Regions from separate parts of the Homo sapiens genome. Here region 2 is linked to region 1. The links are contacts of gene promoters, found by promoter capture Hi-C in human tissues and cell types (Jung and others, 2019). All regions are on one chromosome and are shown on one strand. Each heading gives the region's core, a stretch centred on a gene start or on the middle of the fragment in contact. The rest is flanking DNA. Distances are from core to core; before and after follow the strand shown.

Region 1 (6,623 bases), core at 1,498-3,997:
GATGCTAATGGGAGAGAGTTGATGGTCTTAGATAGTCACCATAATCCCTTTAGAGCAGAGATTTGTTGTAGAAGCCAGGCCACTTTGAAGGACACAGGCTGCCTGATATTCTGGCTGCCCTTGGGTCAGATCTCATCCCTGGCCAAAGTGGTGCCACCACTTTCTCAATGATTGCTTATTTCTCCCTCCTTCAACATGCTTTAGAAGGCAGCGTTTCCCTTAGAGGAGCACAGTGGGCTGGGCAGCAACAGTGGATGACGTGCGTATTACGGCACTGCTGGGTATCATCATAACCAACATGAACTTGTGGCTTGTTCTTACAATGCGCCAGACGTCTCATGAAACATTCAACGTTTCTTAATTCACCCTCACAACCAGAATGAGGTAAGTGTTGTTCTTATTCTTATTATTTGATATTTTATAGATAAAGAGAAGCTTACAGCATGAAATAACTTTCTCAAAATGATAAGATCAGTAAGCGGAATATTCTTTTTTGTTTTTTTTTTTGAGACGGTGTCTCGCTCTGTTGCCCAGGCTGGGGTGCAGTGGCCCGATCTCGGCTCACTGCAAGATCTGCCTCCCGGGTTCACGCCATTCTCCTGCCTCAGCCTCCCCAGTAGCTGGAACTACAGGCACCTGCCACCACTCCCGGCTAATTTTTTGTATTTTTAGTAGAGATGGGATTTCACCGTGTTAGCCAGGATGATCTGGATTTCCTGACCTCGTGATCCGCCCGCCTCGGCCTCCCAAAGTGCTGAGATTACAGGTGTGAGCCACCCTGCCCGGCCAGTAAGCGGAATATTCAATTGGATTCCAGAGTTTATGCTTTTAGCTATCAAGCTATACTCTTTCTCACTATATTTCCCTGAGCTTTGGTTTCCTTATCTATAAAACTGGAACCGCACTGCCTGTTTGCCTTTAGAGCTATAGGTAATAAATGTTATGCATTTATTATGGTAAATAACATGTAGTAGAGCAAAGCATGGAAATTCAGGAAGTAACAAAGAGCAGTCATAAGAATGTCTATGTGGTAAATCTAGATAAAAATTACTTGTATACACATTTACAGTAGCGCCTTTAAAACACACACCGATAGCACTTTAGTAAGTCAAGAATGCATGTTGCACCAATTAGAGAAAACACCAATTTTTTAAAAAAACATATAAATAACAAGCTAATAGAAGAAGAAATGTAATTAGAAAAATTTAAATAAGCCCAAAAACTTTAAGGAAGGACAAAAAAAATCATAGAACAGAGAAAATAGGAATCAATGGTAAGATGGTAGATTTAACCTTGAATTACAGTAAATATAAACAGACTAAATATTGAAATTGAAATATAAAGCTCATCAGAGAAGGTAATAATATCAAGCAAAGCTAAACAAGCTGCTTACTTTAAATATAAAGATATCGACAGGTTGAAAGTAAGTAAGGGATGGTAAAACTACTATGCAAAGCAAAAGTTACAAAACCAAAGCAAAGACTGGCTCGTTTCAGAATAATCAACGTTTCAGGTTTAATATGAAATAATCGTAAATTTGTTTATACCTAATAACATAGCCATAAAATAAAAATTGACAGATAAACAATCATGTTAAGAGCCTGTATAAGCCAGATTTCTCCAGAAAAACAGAATCAAAAGGATATATACATTAAGAATTATATTAAGAAATTTATTTTAGCATATTGGCTTACATGATTGTGGGGCTGGCAAGTCCAGAATCCGTAGGAGAAGCTGGCAGGCTGAAACTCAGGCAGGAAACGATGTTGCAGACTTTAGGCAGAATTTTTTCTTCTCTAGGAAAATTCAGTTTTTGCTCTTAAGGCTTCTGATTGTATAAGGCCCATTCACAGTATGAAAAGTAAGATTTATGTAAAGCCAACTGATTGTAGATGTTAACTACATCTACAAAATACCTTTGCAGCACTACCTAGATTAGTGTTTGATTAAATAAATGGGCAGTAAAGGCCGGGTGCAGTGGCTCACGCCTGTAATCCCAGCACTTTGGGAGGCCGAGGCAGGAAGATCACTTGAGGTCAGGAGTTCAAGACCAGCCTGGCCAACATGGTGAAACCCCATCCGTACTAAAAATACAAAAATTAGCCTGGCTTGGTGGCGGGCACCTGTAATCCCAGCTACTTGGGAGGCTGAAGCAGGAGAATCACTTGAACCCAGGAGGTTGTAGTGAACCGAGATCGCGCCACTGCATTCCAGTCTGGGTGACAAGAGCAAAACTCTGTCTCACCACAAAAAAAAAAAAAAAAAAAAAAAAAAAAAGGCACTAAAGCCTGGCCCCCATGATGACACAGGAAACTAATCGTCATGGAGACTTTATCCACACTTTTGAATATATGTTACATTTCAACATTAAAACACACACACACACACAAAATCATAAAGCAATCAACAAAATTAAGCTGAATGCTTCGTAATTGCTGGATTCCCTGGGAAGCTGACTCTGAGATGGAGATTAGCGTGCAGGACATTTCTTACGGGTTGTTCTTGGGATCAATACCTGTGGAGAGGAGAAGCTGAGGCAGGATCAGGAAGCGGGGAAGTAGAGTGCAATGCTGGTGAAGCGGCATCACTGTCTGGGGTAAATATCCGGGGTTCATCATCTCTCGTCAAGATGATTAACGACATGGACACACATGGGTGAGTTAAGAAGCGGAAAGTTTAATAGGCGGAAGAAAAGAGTGAGGAGACCAGCTCTCAGACATCCTTAAGGGAAAGGCTGGCCCGTGACTGACGGCAGCAGGTTTTACGGGCAGGCTTGAGGAGGCGGTGTCTGATTTACGTGGAGCCCAGAGATTGGTTCGACCAGGGGTGACGTTTACGTAGCGCGCAGGGAAGGCTGGTCACCCCACCCTAATCTTGTTATGCAAATAGGCTTCCCACTTGGCAGGGGCCGTCTTGTCCACTCGTTTCTGTAAACATGGGTGGCAAAAAGAGAAGATGGAGCTGCCATTTAGAACATGCCTAATCCCAGGTAGTGTTTTTTGTTGTTGTTGTTGCTGCTGTTGTCGCTTTTTGAGTCGGAGTTTCGCTCTTGTTGCCCAGGCTGGAGTGCAATGGCGCCATCTTGGCTCACCACAGCCTCCGCCTCCTAAGTTCAGGCGATTCTCCTGCCTCAGCCTCCTGAGTAGCTGGGATTACAGGCGTGAGCCACAGCGCCGGCCCCAGGTAGTATATTTTTATTGGCACAACTGCCGGTATTTGCCTGTGCAAGCTTTCAGCTTGCTTGTCTGTGTCTGCAGCTCGATTTTCCAGGTTGCTTTTTGTTAGAAAAGAAAATGATTTGGGGGCTGCTTTTCATTAAAAGGAAGACCTTACTGAGGACTCCCATACCTTCACTATCTGCCTAAGTACTTTCTTCTTAACTCCTATATCACTGGGTCAGCAGCAACCCCAGTCAAACCTCAAGGGAGACGGGAAGATGGGACGATCTGTCAGAGGTATGCTGAGTTGAGGCAAGAGAGCTGACCTTTATGGATTGCCAATCAGTGACTCATTGGAAGTGGGGCAACCTGGAAGGAAATGTGGCCTTAGGTGAGGCAGCTGTCTTCAGAGGAGGCAATTTCTTTGTATCTGGAGGGGCAATTGTTAGTGTTCCCCTGGACTGAAGGGTGAATTATGGAGAATGGAATAGAACGATTTGTTACTATGATTTGGTTGATGACTTATTTCCTGTTTCCTTAGCTTCATCTTGCTGAGCAAAAATGAAGGAGCCTGGACCCAACTTTGTTACTGTGAGAAAGGGTCTTCATTCATTCAAGATGGCATTTGTTAAGCACCTACTGTGAGTAGATGATCTCCTGTCAAAGACAGTTAACAAATCCTCGGAATATTGCTTCATGTACAGTTATTGGAGATGAGTAACTTACATTCTCTTAATTGTAATGGTTCCTTGGAAAGTCATCGTGGAAAATGAAGGCTGGCTCATACATTTTCCCAGACAGGAATTTGGCTGCCAACAGGGAATTCTAAACAACTAAAAACTCCAGATGATGAATGCACAACATAATGATGGTTAAATTAAAAAAAAAAAAGAGCACGGTAATAAAATTTCCATGAAATATTTTGTGTAAGCGCAGATAATCAGTCATTTTCTTTATAGAATTCTTATTCGTAAATAATTTAGAATACTTTGTTCTTTATAATATATGATGGGCAACTATAGTATGATTCTTCTGAGTGACTCAGTTCTTTTTTTTTTTTCACATTTAATGACTTTGTTTCTCCTAAGTGAATGCACAGATAGTATATTAATCAGGGTTCTCTGGAAAAACCAGAACCAATTTATTATCAGGTACTGGTTCATGTGATTGTGGAGGCTGAGAAGCCCCATGATCTGCTCTCTGCAAGCTGGAGACCCAGGAAAGCTGATGAAAGTCAAAGGCCTAAGAGCTGGAGGGCCGATGGTATAGATTGCAGCCCAGGTCTAAAGGCCTGAGAACCAGAAGCACAGAGGGCAGAAGATCAATATTCCAGCTCAATCAGGCAAAGAGAAAAAGTCCTCCCTTCCTCTCCGTTTTTCTTCTATTCTGACCCTGGATGGACTGGATGAGGCCCAGCCACATTGAGGAGAGCCATCTGCTTTAATCAGTCCACCAACTCAGATCCTGATCTCTTCCAGAAACACCTTCACAGATACACCCAGAAATAACATTCAACCTGTTAGGAGTATCCCATGGCTCAGTCAAGTTGACACACAAAACTAACCATCACAGATACACATCAAAGTTAAATAATATTAACACAGACTTTGGCAAGCTGTATTTTAAAACACAGTAGGTTAGTGAGTCTGGTTTAAGAGCACTAGATGAAACCACATATAAGGATGTTTTTGACATTCTGTGTCTGACCCTTCAGACTCCCTGCCCTCCTCCCCACCATGTTCTGAACCCCAGAACACTGACCTCTACGAACAGCCCCACATGGGCTCTGTTACCCTCTGGCTTCCCATTGGCCCATGGAGGCACAGAGGAAGTTGGGGCAGGAGGACAGAATGGTTGAGGTACGGATGCTCGAGCTCTCAAGGCCACAAGTCGGCAGGGGCTACATTCCTGTGTGAAGCTCACTACCCCTCAGTCGTCTCCTCTAGCTCTCTGTGGGGTCCGGTGACCTCTCTCCTTACAGTCCCATTAGCCCTAGGGGAGGTAATGGCTCTCCAGGGAGTGCTGCCCATGGGTGTCTCAGTATCACTTGTTGGTTCCCATAGCCCCACCCACACCTGTGTAAATAGGCCTTCATTAACCTTAGCTCAGTTGCCTGGTTTGAGTGTACCATCTGTTTCCTGCCAGCACTCTGACTGATAACAGCATTTTTGATATAGGTCTCCATCACATGTATGTACCTTTGTGTCCTCTGTATTCCTCATTGATCAGGGTTATAAATTTTCTCTTCCTGTGACACTAAATTGCCCTTAATAAAGCTTATTGACCCTAAAAGTCAAAGGGGGCAAAATCAGAGCTAGTCTCAATTCCTTAAAGTGGACATTATACAGAAGGTTAGGAAATATTAAATACAAGTATTCACATATGTGTTCCCCCCGTCAAGCTAATAAACATATGTATGTGCTTTTTGAAAACCAGTGTAACCGCAGGTTGTCTCTTGTTCCTAGTAGGTGCTGATTAGAGCAATGAGTTCCAACTTGGCAGTTTTTGGAAACTGAACATGAGCTGTTAATGTCTCTGCATCAACTCGGGTTTCCTTTTGCTTTTGTTTAAATTGAAGTTTTTCACTTAATATAAGATTTAGAGATTTCTGTCTCAGAGCTCGCCAAGATTTGCTACTTTTGTCTACCCTTGTTTTTAATCTTAAAAATTTGGATTTACTTAATAATTCCAAGTATGAACATTAATGTTGCTTTTATCTTCCATTTTACTGCACAGGAGGAGGGGAACAGATACCAAACTACTGATTATTTTACTTCCATTGTTAATACACATGAGAATATAAGTCTTCTTGTGTACCTGGAACTTACAAAAATTGGTTTCAGCTACTCAGGAGGCTGAGGCAGGAGAATGGCGTGAACTCAGGAGGCGGAGCTTGCAGTGAGCCAAGATCGCACCACTACACTCCAGCCTGGGAGACAGAGCGAGACTCCGTCTCAAAAAAAAAAGGAAAAAAAATTGGTTTTTAAAAAATTACATAACATATGTAATTTTTAAAACATATGTTTTAAACATATGTAATTTTCAAAAAAAAATTGGTTTTTAAAAAATTACATAACATACTTATGTTAAAATATACATAACATAAAGTGTATCATTTTAACCATTTTTTAAGTGTACAGCCTAATGGCATTAAGTACATTTGCATTGTTGTGCAGCTATCCCTACCATCCACCTCCAGAACCTTTTTTTATCCTCCAAAATTGGAACTGTGTACCCATTACACAATAATGCCCCGTTCTCTTTTCCTGTAAGCCCCTGGCACCCACCATTCTGCTTTGCCTCTAGGAATTTGACTACTCTAGGTACTTCACATAGGTAGAATCATGCGGTATTTGTCCTTTTGTGACTGGCTTATTCCACTTACCATAATGTCTTCAAGGTTCATCCATGTTGTATTAATAGCATGTCTTGGAATTCCTTTCCGAAATTTCTAAGGCTGAATAA
Region 2 (6,623 bases), core at 1,769-4,268, 110 kb before region 1:
GCTAGAATCACAAAGACAGGCAGTACCAAATGTTGACAAGGATGTGGGGAAATTGGGGCTCTTGTGCATTGCTGGAGAGAATGTAAAGTGGTGCAACTGATTCTGAAAAAAGTCTAGAAGTTTTTCAAAAGGTTAAACATAAAATTACCATATGATCCAGCAACCCCACATCTATGTCTATGTCCAAGAAAAATGAAACATTCCCACACAGAAACTTGTTCACAAATGTTCATAGCAGGATTTTCATATAGCCAAAAAGGCACAACCAAAAATAACCATTAGCTGATGAATGGATACATAAAATGTGGTATATCCATACAAGGGAATATTAATTGGCAATAAAAAGTAGTCAAGAACTGATAAATACTATGACATGTATGAATGAATCTTGAGGACATTATGCTAAGTGAAAGAAGCCAGACCCAGCAGGCCATGTGCTGTGTGATACTGTTTATGTGAAATGTCCAGACATTTCAATGAGACAGACAGCAGATTAGTGAAGGCCAGGGCCTTGAGGAAGTAGGGAATGAAGGGGTGAGGACTAAGGGGAATGGGTTTCTTTTTGGAGTATTGAAGGTATTCTAACTGTGGTGGTGGTTGCATAACTTTGTAAATGCACTAAAAAAAACTGACTTGTACATTTTAAATGGGTGAGTTATAGGATATGTGAATTAATTATATTTTCATAAAGCTGTTTAAAAAGACCACTCTGGCTGCTCTATAAAGAATCTTGTACAGGACTTACAAGCAGGGGGGGCAGGATCTTACTGAAGAGGCTGCTGCATTAATGCAGGATGGTGGCGGTGGAAGTGAGAGAAGTGGTCAGATTCTGGCTGTTTTAACAGTGGAGCCGGAAGGCTTTGCCGGTGGGCTGGATGTGGGGTGTGAAGGAGATGGCTGCCTTATTGTTCCATTGGGAAGCCTGCATTGAGGCAGAGAGGAGCCAGAGATCTGGAGTGAATCCATAAATGAACAAATTTATGGCCCTCCTCTATGGAGAAGGCAGTATGCTCCAGGAGGTAAAAGGAGACAGACTCCAGTCCTTGCCTCAAGAAAGTTACACTCTGTAGATTTCAGCACAGTAACACAAAAAAGTTAAACGAGTATGACATTGTGATAAGTGTTTCAGACAACACCAGAAGAGATATTGCAGGAACATAAACTAGTGGTTGCCATAGGAATTCGAATATATGACTCTTGGCTGGAATAGCCCCAGAGCGGAGGGCTGAATGGAGGACGATAATGGCACACAGAGATGAGGGAGGGAGCCACAGGAAAACTGCATTTCAGGAGTCGGGAAGTAGACCACTTTGGCTGAAATCAATTTCATGTGGAGATGCCAAGGGAGATAAGGTTGAGAAAAGCAGAAAACAATTCCCTTTTAAAACACAGAGAATACTTGTTCATCACTTGACTGATCACAAGAATGAGCTGAGCAATTTTGTTATAGATCATAAACCAATTGCCCGCTTGCACAAGATTTAATACGAGGAAGACCTACTGGCTTTCTCTGATGATGAGATGATAAACAATAGACATGACAGATTGCCTAGAAAATGAGACATAATAATGAGAGTCAAACGCTGTTATTAAATCCGTGTGAAGGGGGAATCAGGAGGATAAGAAACCACTGTTAATGATGGTGAGAAAGCTGTGATCCAAAATGGCCTGAGGGGATTTTTGTTTTCACATGTGTGAATTCAATAAATTATGAGACTGTCAAATAGGTCCATTAAAACCATTAAGTATACTCAAGCTACATATGAAACTACGTGCTCTTCTTTCAGAAAAAGCAAACAAGATGGCCTTGTGATTTTTTAATGAATAATAGACATTCATTTAGATTTTTTTTTCCTCTTGTGATAGATATTCCATGCTCAGGTACTGGCAATGATCATTATAGCCCAGATGTTAGGAGCTCATGTCTTAGAATGAGGATGTCTCTGTTCAAATTCCAGCTTCTTGTTTTACTGCCATTTAATCTCTCCGTGCCTCAGTTTCTTCATTTGTAAAATGAGGATGATGTTGACAGCAATACTCACTTTATGGGGTTGCTGGGAGGTACCATTTGTACAGCACTTGGAGTAGTTAGCTCCTGCCGTTTATCAACACTCCAAAAATGTTAGCTGTGAACTGAAAGCCTGCTTTTCTACCTATTCATCACTTTCTGCCCACTTTTGTTGTAGCTAAGCAGTGTGTTTCTTCCTTATTACAAATGTCCTTGCACCTCTTGTTGATGGAGCACCAGTTTTTCTAGAATGAGGGGCTGCTTTTCATTTCCAGCAGCACAATCAGTGGCTGGAAAAGGGAGAGAGAAACCCCAGACAAAACCCACCTGATGCATCACAGATGCTGCAGACCGAGGCCTGGAGAAAAAAAGGGGGACTTGATTCCCTTTGATATTGGGAGAAGTCTGTTTCCCAAGCTGTGGCCACTGAAATGAAACTGCTGAGATCCCCATACCTAAGAAGGAACTTTTGGACACAGGAAGGGGAACATCACACACCGGGGACTGTTGTGGGGTGGGGGGAGAGGGGAGGGATAGCATTAGGAGATATACCTAATGCTAAATGACGAGTTAATGGGTGCAGCACACCAACATGGCACATGTATACATATGTAACAAACCTGCACGTTGTGCACACATACCCTAAAACTTAAAGTATAATAATAATAAAATTAAAAAAAAAAGAAGAAGGAACTTTTGGACAATAGGCGTTCTTCCATTATAGGATGAAAGGGTAGGTGGGGCTGGAAGTATACTCAGCAGTGGACACTCTTTTCCCCACAAGGAGCTTTTTTACTTTTAAAAACTAAAACTGAAATGAATTGTTATAAAATATCACATCATATTAAAATATAAAATATTTTATATTGAAACATATATTCAATATATCTTGGCACTCTGTATATGAAATATTATATCATACCTGATGATATCATAAAATATCATTTTAAATTATATTAATACAAGTTTGTTTTATAAAACCTAAAAAATAACCAAGAAATAAAGCAGGGAAAAAAACCTTGATGACTGCTTCTCAGAAGCTTGCTTATACGATTTCCCCTTTTGAAAATTAAGTTTTTTTTCAGAATACTCTGTTTTCTTAGTTATCAATGTGTGAGTACAGGTCAAATGACTTATAATGAAAATTGTTAATATGGAAAGTTTTGTATTTCCTTAGGCTGAGTTTTTTTAATAAATAAACTTAAAATTTGGAAGAGTTCTAGATTTACGGAAAAGTTGCAAAGAGAGTGTTGAGAGCTCCCCTTGGATCTCCCTCACCCAGGTTCTGTTCCCTTAATGTGACCGTCTTATGTCACCACAGGGCACTCGTTGAATCTGAGAAACCAAGCTTGTTGAAACTAAACTAAATGGGCTTCAGATATAGGTTTACCTTTGGATCACTGCAATTATCTCCCTCCTCACCCATCTTTCAGATTAGTAATTTTTTTTTTTTTTTTAGATGAAGTCTTGCTCTGTCGCCCAGGCTGGAGTGCAGTGGCATGATCTCGGCTCACTGCAACCTCTGCCTCCCGGGTTCAAGCGATTCTCCTGCCTCAGCCTCCTGAGTAGCTGGGATTACAGGCGCCTGCCATCATGCCCAGCTAATTTTTGTATTTTTAGTAGAGACAGGGTTTCACCATGTTGGCTAGGCTCGTCTCAAACTCCTGACCTCAGGTGATCTGCTTGCCTCGGCCTCCCAAAGTGCAGATTAGTAGTTTTTTTTTTTCTTTTTTTGAGATGGAGTCTCGCTCTGTCACCCAGGCTGGAGTCCAGTGGCGCCATCTCGGCTCACTGCAAGCTCCGCCTCCCGGGTTCATGCCCTTCTCCCGCCTCAGCCTGCCGAGTGGCTGGATTTACAGGCGCCCGCCACCACACCCGGCTAATTTTTTGTATTTTTAGTAGAGACGGGGTTTCACCGTGTTAGCCAGGATGGTCTGGACAGATTAGTAGTTTTTAAAGGTCTTATATCTCTCATTCTTGAATACAATATAATTACCTAATTTAAATCACTTGTTTCAAATTTCTGGAACTCATTTTCGCTGCGAAAGAATACTAGCCATGATTATCAAATATGTGCTTTTATCTGTGGTAGTTTAAGCAGAATAACTAAGCAACAATACAATAGGCCCTCCTCCTGGGGTTACTGTGTAATCCACATATTGAGGTGCCCAACAAAACAGAGTCCTTAAATGTCTTACAGTTATGGTTCTTTCTTTATTCTACATTTTTTAAAACGATGAAGAAGGAAGGCTGTATCAGAGTCCTGGTAGAAAACATGACACACTCAAGTGAAGCAACCGAGGACACGTTAAGACATTTATTCACAGAGCTACGGGCAAGTGGAAGGAGACTCTTGGGGTAGTGCAGTACTTTGGAGCTAGCAAGAGTGGGGAGCTGTTAGGATTCCTAGGCTTGGGAGGAGCAACTGCAAAAAATGATGGCAACATATATGCAAACAGACATCAACAGTTAGGTATGTATTCTCAAACAGACTTCAAAAGTAATTTAACACAATTGTTCGTGTGTCCTTCAGTCTAGACACTGTTATTCACATCAGCTGTGCAGGACTGAACAAAGAGAGAAATCAGAACTTCTGGCAAAATAAAGGGATAACATGTCTCGTTCAACTTGAGAGTCACAATTCCCCTGCTGTTTCTGGTAAATGCTATGCCTCATGGAAGCTGGTCAGAGCTTTGTCAGGCTTTCTAGAATTAGTATAGTCAGCATCTTTGCTGCAGAATAAGCTGTCCCTGCTTCATTATGCAAGCTGCACTGTGAATGTTTGCTGTGACGCTGCCGTCCTCAGTGCCTGATGCTGGTTTTGCATTTGAGTTTCATTCTTTTTCTGTATTCATGCGGTTGGGAGTTGTTTCCTGCATAACAGCACCATTAACAGCTACACCTCATTTTCTATCAATTCCTTAAGATTTGGATGGAAGAAATTCCTAAATCACATTCCTTGTCAGACAGTTTGCATGTCAGTTTAAGGTCATTAAATCCACCATGATTTCTGAAATTTCTCTTTTGCTCTTCAGTTTGTGAACATGGATTTGTAAGTCACCATTCCAACCAGGATGCATACACTGAAATGCATATCCAGATTAATAACAGGCTAGGAAGAATAATGAGTTCTCTCTCTCTTCATTCATTCACACATTTGTGTTTAGACAAAGACATTTTGGACCAAATCATCTATAACTGACTGAAACTCCGTTTTGATTGTCTTAATAAGAAATGAATTTGTAGAACATTTTAAGGGCTTTATTAATAGGTTATAAGTTTACGATAAAAGCAAAATAACTTAAAATTTTTTAAAAGGTTGAAAAAGAATGTATTACTAGGCTTATAGGTTAGATAAATATGAAAATATGAAAAATTTGAAGAGATCATATTCAAAATAAATTAAGAAACCAATTTTTATGTTAAATGATTAATAAATGAGTTGGTGTCTGTATGGGGGAGTTTTCTTTTGGTGTGCAATAGCGCTTGTCTTCAATATTATCAACAAATACTCTGGAAACAGGTATCAGTGACACCCAAAATATTACCAGCAGCAATAGTAAACATAAGTGACAGTGAGTAAGTGCTAACCATGCCCCAGCTGTGTGCAGAGGACTCTGTAGGATGATCTCACTTAATACCCACAGAACATAGGTCTTGTAATGAACCTATTATTATCCAAGGGAATGGAGGCAAAGAACGGAAGTATACCCAAGATGGCAAAGGGTTGGAGCAAAAATCTGGACCCAGTTTTTCTGATTCCATTGCCCAGGCTCCTAACCACAAGACTCTGCTCTTGCCCAGTGATTCAAATTCGTGCTTGCTTTGCAGCTGGGATCGAGGCAGGGGATGTCTGTGAGAATCTGGGCCACCCTGAATGAGAACAGGAATCCTTCAAAATGAAACTTATCATGATTCACTACTTCATGAAGCTGCCCTGGCATCCTAAAACTCTCCTCGCAAATATAGAGAAGTGAGAAGTTTTTCAGCAATGACATCTACAAAAAAGACTAGAGGGTCTAATGATTAACATTTTTGAAATGAGTTCATTGTATGATTTGGCTGCTATAAGTGCTAGACAGCATATGGGAATGTGTTTTATAAGCCATAAGTCACTACAAAATGTCACATGTACGTATATGCTGTAATGATAGGTGTTGATTCTGCTATAAAGCTAGGGACCACATGTGGGAAAGTGTTCTGTAAATCATAAATTACTATACAATGTCAAATATGTATATGCATGTGCCATTGATAGATATTGACTCTCAGAAGAAGGAAATGAAGCATGTCTTCTTGGGAAGGGAGGTTGGAGGGATTGATTGTCTCCTCTATGAGTCATCATCCCTATTTGTTTCTGAAAGATTTGGCGTGGTCTGTCTGGACATGAAGCATGGGGACAGAAAAGCAATAAGAAGGGAGGGAGAATCTCTCTCAACAGGTCTTGCTGAAGGCTGGCATCACACCCCAGGGGCCTAGGCAGTGTGTAAAGCTGATTTATTTCTCTGGTAAGTTGCTTTTATTCATAGATTGTTCTCTTGCTGAGTAATCCCTCAGTGGAGGTGATGTCTGTTACCACAGCTCATCACTGACTCTTTCTGCAGACCTCAGGAGC

The links. Contacts are between HindIII fragments. The study calls those that stand out against the background at their distance.
Region 2: a fragment that was not itself captured here is called in contact with the fragment with the promoter of DSCR4 in region 1 in 2 of the 25 tissues and cell types used here (aorta and heart left ventricle).

Annotation. Positions count from the first base shown.
Region 1 is chr21:38,118,613-38,125,235 of GRCh38, forward strand. DSCR4 (Down syndrome critical region 4) reads right to left here and starts at 2,748. Exons shown (of 3, transcript NR_147130.1): 1 at 2,516-2,748; 2 at 1,695-1,796. It overlaps DSCR8 (Down syndrome critical region 8), which reads left to right and starts at 2,839. Exons shown (of 3, transcript NR_026842.1): 1 at 2,839-2,989; 2 at 3,700-3,799. The HindIII fragment of the contact is 7,375 bases long and covers 1-4,331 here.
Region 2 is chr21:38,008,143-38,014,765 of GRCh38, forward strand. No RefSeq gene overlaps it. Among named protein-coding and RNA genes, the nearest start is that of KCNJ6, 95 kb to the left of the region's middle. The HindIII fragment of the contact is 5,050 bases long and covers 494-5,543 here.